Linked DNA regions of Homo sapiens: region 1 is linked to region 2. The links are contacts of gene promoters, found by promoter capture Hi-C in human tissues and cell types (Jung and others, 2019). All regions are on one chromosome and are shown on one strand. Each heading gives the region's core, a stretch centred on a gene start or on the middle of the fragment in contact. The rest is flanking DNA. Distances are from core to core; before and after follow the strand shown.

Evidence for each region. The method cuts DNA at HindIII sites, captures the fragments that hold promoters and counts their contacts. A contact is called where the count stands out against the background at its distance.
Region 1: a contact is called between a fragment that was not itself captured here and the fragment with the promoter of CYP1A2 in region 2, in 2 of the 25 tissues and cell types used here (heart right ventricle and spleen).

The regions. Positions count from the first base shown.
Region 1 is chr15:74,648,242-74,651,790 of GRCh38, forward strand. The region is part of intron 4 of EDC3 (enhancer of mRNA decapping 3); the gene reads right to left. Among named protein-coding and RNA genes, the nearest start is that of CLK3, 34 kb to the left of the region's middle. The HindIII fragment of the contact is 6,435 bases long and covers 1-3,549 here.
Region 2 is chr15:74,747,591-74,751,026 of GRCh38, forward strand. CYP1A2 (cytochrome P450 family 1 subfamily A member 2) reads left to right here and starts at 1,255. Exons shown (of 7, transcript NM_000761.5): 1 at 1,255-1,307; 2 at 2,140-2,979. The coding sequence starts at 2,149. RefSeq lists promoters at 1-1,345, 1,011-2,148. The HindIII fragment of the contact is 12,167 bases long and covers 1-3,425 here.

The DNA of each region.
Region 1 (3,549 bases), core at 430-2,929, 99 kb before region 2:
TTTCTTGACTACCTATTTTTGAGGAGATAAAAACACTGCTGGTCTTGAAAGCCTTAGATTACTTCTAGAGGGACTCTTGGTGACAAGAAGCAGAGGAAGGCAGCTACGGCTCAGAGGCAGGAATGGAATGCCAGCTGTGAAAGAGACAACTGCTAGCCTGGAATTTTCTGAAAGCCAAACTTGTCCTAAGAGCTAGATACATCCCCACCAAGGCTCAAAGACTTAGCCGGCCAGCGTGAGAAGAGTAGAGTCACAAAGCCACAGGAACAAATCATTTGTGGCTTCACCAGCTGCCTCCCTTCCTAGCAGAAACCAGAACTGCCTTTTCCAAAAGAAATGAGTATTGGTAAAAGGTGCTGGAGCTCAGACCAGAGCACCTCACTCAAGCTTAACTGGATCCTTTTTAAGGAAATAAATAGGAACTCTAGTTCGGGTCATCCTCACACACTTCCTGTTCCCTAAATCTCAGCGCACAGTGTGGAAGTGGATCATCCTTCAGGCAAAGCTGCAGAGATGCCTGCACCAAGAGCACCCTACTGCCTCCCATCTGGGCTTTTACATACTTGAGGACAGAAGAGGGCTGCACAGTAGAAAACAAATGGTGGAGGTTAAAGAAGTCTACCCAGAAGGAAAGGCTCATGAATAGAGAATTTATTACAACAGAGGGAAGGAAGAATTCTAGTCATTTTTTTTAAACGTTGAGATAGGATCTTGCTATGTTGCCCAGGCTGGTCTTGAATTCCTGGCCTCAAGCAATCCCCCAACCTGTGCCTCCCGAGTAGCTGGGACCACAGGCACATACCATCACACCCTGGCTAATTTTTTTTTTTTTTTTTTTTTTGAGACAGAGTCTCACTCTGTCGCCCAGGCTGGAGTGCAGTGGCACAATCTCAGCTCACTGCAAGCTCCGCCTCCCAGGTTCACGCCATTCTCCTGCCTCAGCCTCCCAAGTAGCTGGGACTACAGGCACCTGCCACCACGCCCGGCTAATTTTTTTTTTGTTATTTTTAGTAGAGACGGGGTTTCACCGTGTTAGCACCCTGGCTAATTTTTTATTTTTATTTTTTTGTAGAGATGGGGTCTCATTATGTTGCTTAGGCCAGGCTCAAGCGAGCCAGCCTCCTGCCTCAGCCTCCCAAAGTGGTGGGATTACAGGTGTGAGCCACTGCAGCCAACTACACTTCTGTTATTAGTATATTTACATATTTGGTTCAGTTATACTCAGAGGCCCCTAAGGTGATGAACTATGACTTACCCAGAGTATTTAAAACAGTGTCTGGCACATAGTAGGTATTCTATAAATGCTGATGCTTTGAAATAATCTTACTGAGGTGGCCTTTGCAAATTCACATTTGAAGTCAAATATTTACTGAATAATAATTACAGATTGGGTATTGTGCTAGCTACTTTTCCACATAATCTCATTTAATCCACAGTATTAGCCCACTTTATAGATAAGGAAACCAGCTTAGTAGCCTCTCTTTGGCTATATAACTTTTAACTCCTCATTAAAGCTCTTAATAACCAATAACTCCCACATCTCCCTATCCCTCATTGTAGCAACTCTTGCCTTTGCTTTCTCTGGGCTCAGGCACAAAGCATTGCAGGAGGGAAAAAAAGGGGGGGGGGGTCACAAAACCATGTAGGCTTGGCCCACTATAAATTCGTGCAATCTCATGATAACTTGACTTGCTGCCATTCTTCCTGCCTCACAGGTTCAATACCTCCAAATCCTCCTGTTCACTCAACCCTGTTTTCAATCATCATAGCCTATCAAATTGCCCTCTGTTGCTTCCCTCATATCTTTGTGTTCCTTTCCATTCAATGGTCTAAATCCCTAGTATGTAAACTACATCATGAGCATGACTGGTCCTGCTCTGGTCTCTTCTCTCCCCTCTCGTTCCACCTGGAATCCTACCACAAGACCAGTCTTCCTAAAAGAGATTTGGATCATGTCATTTTCCTATCCAAAAGCCTTCAGTTGTTCCCTATGACTACAGGACAAGGATAGCACTGGCACACAAGGCCCTCTATGCTCTGGTCCAAAGCTATATTTTAGTTCCTTCTACTCCCCAGCACAAACTCTCTGCCCTGGCCAAGCCAGCTAATGACCAGTCTCCCACACAGCCCTTTACTCATACTATTCACCTGCACCTGCCTAGCCTACCCATGAATATCTTCCTCTTTCTCTCTGCCTGGTGAAATCCTGCCCATGTTTCAAGGCTTCCATCATGAAGCCTTCCTTGATGCAGCCTACAGGACCTCTCCTGCCTCTCAACACCTAGTGCACTTAATGTCCACACTTTCACTGGACTCTGGGCATATATGGAATCTTTCCATCTCCTATTACATTTTCATAACTTAAAGGCAAGGACTATCTTAGAGTCAGTTACACATAATAAACATAATAAACACAGTGTTTTGACTGACCCAAACTGTCTTAAAGTATTTCCTTTAGAATACCATGAGTGTTAGGCCAGGCGCGGTGGCTCATGCCTGTAATCCCAGCACTTTGGAAGGACAAGGTGGGCAGATCACCTGAGATCAGGAATTCGAGACCAGCCTGGCCAATATGGTGAAACCCCATCTCTACTAAAAATACAAAAATTTGCCAGGTGTGGTGGTGTGTGCCTGTAATCCCAGCTACATGGGAGGCTAAGGCAGGAGAATCACTTGAACTCAGTAGGTGGAGGTTGCAGTGAGCTGATACTGCACTACTGCACTCCAGCCTGGGTGCCAGAGTAAGACTCTGTCTCAAAAAATAATAATAAAATTTAAAAAAAAATTAAAAAAAGAATCTTATGAGTGTTGAATAAAGATTCTTCTCTGAAGCCTTACCACTTTACTAAGCAGTATTCTTTGGGGAGTTCTCACCACTGAACACAGAGTGCTCACACACATCTAGTGTTTTATATTTAAACTTAACACATGCACGTAGAATCAGTCTTCAAAGAATTTCAAATTACAAGTCTGGATCCAGAAAGACCCTGGCCAATCCAGAGTGTGATCACTGGACACCATTATTTAGCAGGGCAGGCCCAAGCTAGAGAAATGTCTGATGATCCGTGACTGCGGGAGACAGAAGCCCTGCCAAAGAACCTGAAAGGAATTTCCAGAGAGAAAAAATTGGGGTTAAACAAAGAGCTAAATTTAGTTGCTTCCTGAATGTGTTTTCCCAATCAATAGACCTAAAACAACACTGTTCCCCATCACAACACACACAGCTGGCAAAGAGTACTGCCAAGAGGAGTATGAGCAATTAGTGAATAATAGCTTATGTACTGTTGGTTGACACCACTTAGCATGAAGTCAATATATAGGGCACCAGCAGCAAGCTGTCAGAATCCTAAATCCCAAGCCATCACCAAATGGGTAATAAATATGTTGTTCTTTTGCTACCATGGGGATTAGTACAAAAGTACTTGGTATTCTAGGACATGAATGCCACAAGGCCAGACTGCGGGAGCTCTCCAAGTTACTTCTGTAAACTGCTGGTCCATTCCTGAGAGACTGCAGTACTAAAGAAAAGACTACAGAGATGTCCCTCAA
Region 2 (3,436 bases), core at 5-2,504:
ATATGAAATAAGCATTCATGGAGAATGGAGTATCCATCCCCTCAAGCAAGGATAAACCTTTGAGTTACAAACAATCCAATTACACTCTTTAAAGGTGTACATTTTTTTTTTTTTTGAGACGGAGTCTCACTCTGTCGCCCAGGCTGGAGTGGAGTGGCACGATCTTGGCTCACTGCAGCCTCCACCTCCCAAGTTCAAGCCATTCTCCTGCCTCAGCCTCCCGAGTAGCTGGGATCACAGGCACATGCCACCATGCCTGGCTAATTTTTGTATTTTTAGTAGAGACGGAGTTTCACCAGGTTGGCCAGGCTGGTCTTGAACACCTGATCTCAGGTGATCCGCCCATCTCGGCCTCTCAAAGTGCTGGGATTACAGGTGCGAGCCATCGCGCCTGGCCTAGAGGTGTACATTTTTTAACAGAACCATTCAAAAGGAGGTTGTGGGGATCATGACACTTCCATGCTACAGCATTAATCTCCTAAGAATAAGGATACACTCCCACATACCATGACACTCTGTTCACACCTAAAAAAATTTACATTTATTCCAGAATATCATCTAATCTCCAGTCCGTGCTTACATGTCCCCAATTGTCCCCAAAACATCTTTTATAGATTTTTTTAAAATTTTGTTTAAATGCCATATCCAATCGATATGGCAATCAAATGCAAATCCATATTGCATTTGGTTATGTCTCTTAGTCTTTTTGCATAAGGGGGGCCTCTCTTTAGGATGCAAAATCTTTATCATCTCTTCTTTTCCACTTGGGGACTTGGGCTGAAAATCAGGAGTGGCTGGAACACGCCCATTTACTGTTTGGTTTTGCAGGTTGTTGGAGGGTACTACAGAAGAACATCCCTCTGGAGAGGGGCCGTGAGCCTGGTTGGCCTAGACTGAGTGCCCTGGCAGAGCTCTTCCTCATGTGTGCAGTGGGAAAGAAGCCCAGATCAGTCCAAAGGCCTAACCCCCACTCCCAGACCCTACCCTACTCTTCAGAGAAATAGGCTCCCTACCCTGAACCCTAAAGACAGCTGTACCTTCATCCCCAGGGACCCAGCACCCCTTCTGGCCTATCCCCAAAGAGTCACCCTGGGTCTTAGGTAGTAGGTGGAGCTGAGGGATAATGGCCCAAGGCCAAGAGTTGATCCTTCCAACTTTGTTCAGTGATCCAGCTTTCATATCAGGTGATCAGGACAACCAGGCCAATCTGATAGGGGGCGGTGTTTATAAAAAGGCCACTCACCTAGAGCCAGAAGCTCCACACCAGCCATTACAACCCTGCCAATCTCAAGCACCTGCCTCTACAGGTACCTTTCTTGGGACCAATTTACAATCTCTGGGATCCCCAACTATAGAACCTGGAAGCTAGTGGGGACAGAAAGACGGGGAGCCTGGGCTAGGTGTAGGGGTCCTGAGTTCCGGGCTTTGCTACCCAGCTCTTGACTTCTGTTTCCCGATTTTAAATGAGCAGTTTGGACTAAGCCATTTTTAAGGAGAGCGATGGGGAGGGCTTCCCCCTTAGCACAAGGGCAGCCCTGGCCCTGGCTGAAGCCCAACCCCAACCTCCAAGACTGTGAGAGGATGGGGACTCATCCCTGGAGGAGGTGCCCCTCCTGGTATTGATAAAGAATGCCCTGGGGAGGGGGCATCACAGGCTATTTGAACCAGCCCTGGGACCTTGGCCACCTCAGTGTCACTGGGTAGGGGGAACTCCTGGTCCCTTGGGTATATGGAAGGTATCAGCAGAAAGCCAGCACTGGCAGGGACTCTTTGGTACAATACCCAGCATGCATGCTGTGCCAGGGGCTGACAAGGGTGCTGTCCTTGGCTTCCCCATTTTGGAGTGGTCACTTGCCTCTACTCCAGCCCCAGAAGTGGAAACTGAGATGATGTGTGGAGGAGAGAGCCAGCGTTCATGTTGGGAATCTTGAGGCTCCTTTCCAGCTCTCAGATTCTGTGATGCTCAAAGGGTGAGCTCTGTGGGCCCAGGACGCATGGTAGATGGAGCTTAGTCTTTCTGGTATCCAGCTGGGAGCCAAGCACAGAACACGCATCAGTGTTTATCAAATGACTGAGGAAATGAATGAATGAATGTCTCCATCTCAACCCTCAGCCTGGTCCCTCCTTTTTTCCCTGCAGTTGGTACAGATGGCATTGTCCCAGTCTGTTCCCTTCTCGGCCACAGAGCTTCTCCTGGCCTCTGCCATCTTCTGCCTGGTATTCTGGGTGCTCAAGGGTTTGAGGCCTCGGGTCCCCAAAGGCCTGAAAAGTCCACCAGAGCCATGGGGCTGGCCCTTGCTCGGGCATGTGCTGACCCTGGGGAAGAACCCGCACCTGGCACTGTCAAGGATGAGCCAGCGCTACGGGGACGTCCTGCAGATCCGCATTGGCTCCACGCCCGTGCTGGTGCTGAGCCGCCTGGACACCATCCGGCAGGCCCTGGTGCGGCAGGGCGACGATTTCAAGGGCCGGCCTGACCTCTACACCTCCACCCTCATCACTGATGGCCAGAGCTTGACCTTCAGCACAGACTCTGGACCGGTGTGGGCTGCCCGCCGGCGCCTGGCCCAGAATGCCCTCAACACCTTCTCCATCGCCTCTGACCCAGCTTCCTCATCCTCCTGCTACCTGGAGGAGCATGTGAGCAAGGAGGCTAAGGCCCTGATCAGCAGGTTGCAGGAGCTGATGGCAGGGCCTGGGCACTTCGACCCTTACAATCAGGTGGTGGTGTCAGTGGCCAACGTCATTGGTGCCATGTGCTTCGGACAGCACTTCCCTGAGAGTAGCGATGAGATGCTCAGCCTCGTGAAGAACACTCATGAGTTCGTGGAGACTGCCTCCTCCGGGAACCCCCTGGACTTCTTCCCCATCCTTCGCTACCTGCCTAACCCTGCCCTGCAGAGGTTCAAGGCCTTCAACCAGAGGTTCCTGTGGTTCCTGCAGAAAACAGTCCAGGAGCACTATCAGGACTTTGACAAGGTGAGCCCGGGGTGCAGGTGGCAAGGGGCACCTTGCAGGGCCTGGGTGCAGCCCCTCCCTCCCAGCTCCAGCATGCCCACACAGCTGCTGTGTTGCCAAGGCCTAGGAAGGCTCTGGACACCTCAGACCAGCTGTGTGACCTGGAGCCGACTCTTCCCCTTCTCTGGGCCTCAGTTTCCTCATCCTTGAAGCCCCCTTCTCAGGGCTCCTCAAAGCCCCCAAGAAAAAAGCCCTGGAAATGGGGCCCTAGCAGAGTCCTGCAATGTGGGGGGCCTATGAGTGAGAAAGCTTTCATTCTGCAGAAACCTAAACCCCAACAGAGGCTAATCCCCAGCTCTGGTGTCACGTTGCTTCCCTGTGTTCACACTAACCTTTTCCTTCTTTGAAATTGGACCCCTGGTGTTATTGGGAGGAAGGGTCAATGGGGCATAAAATGACACTTTAAGCCATACCCAGG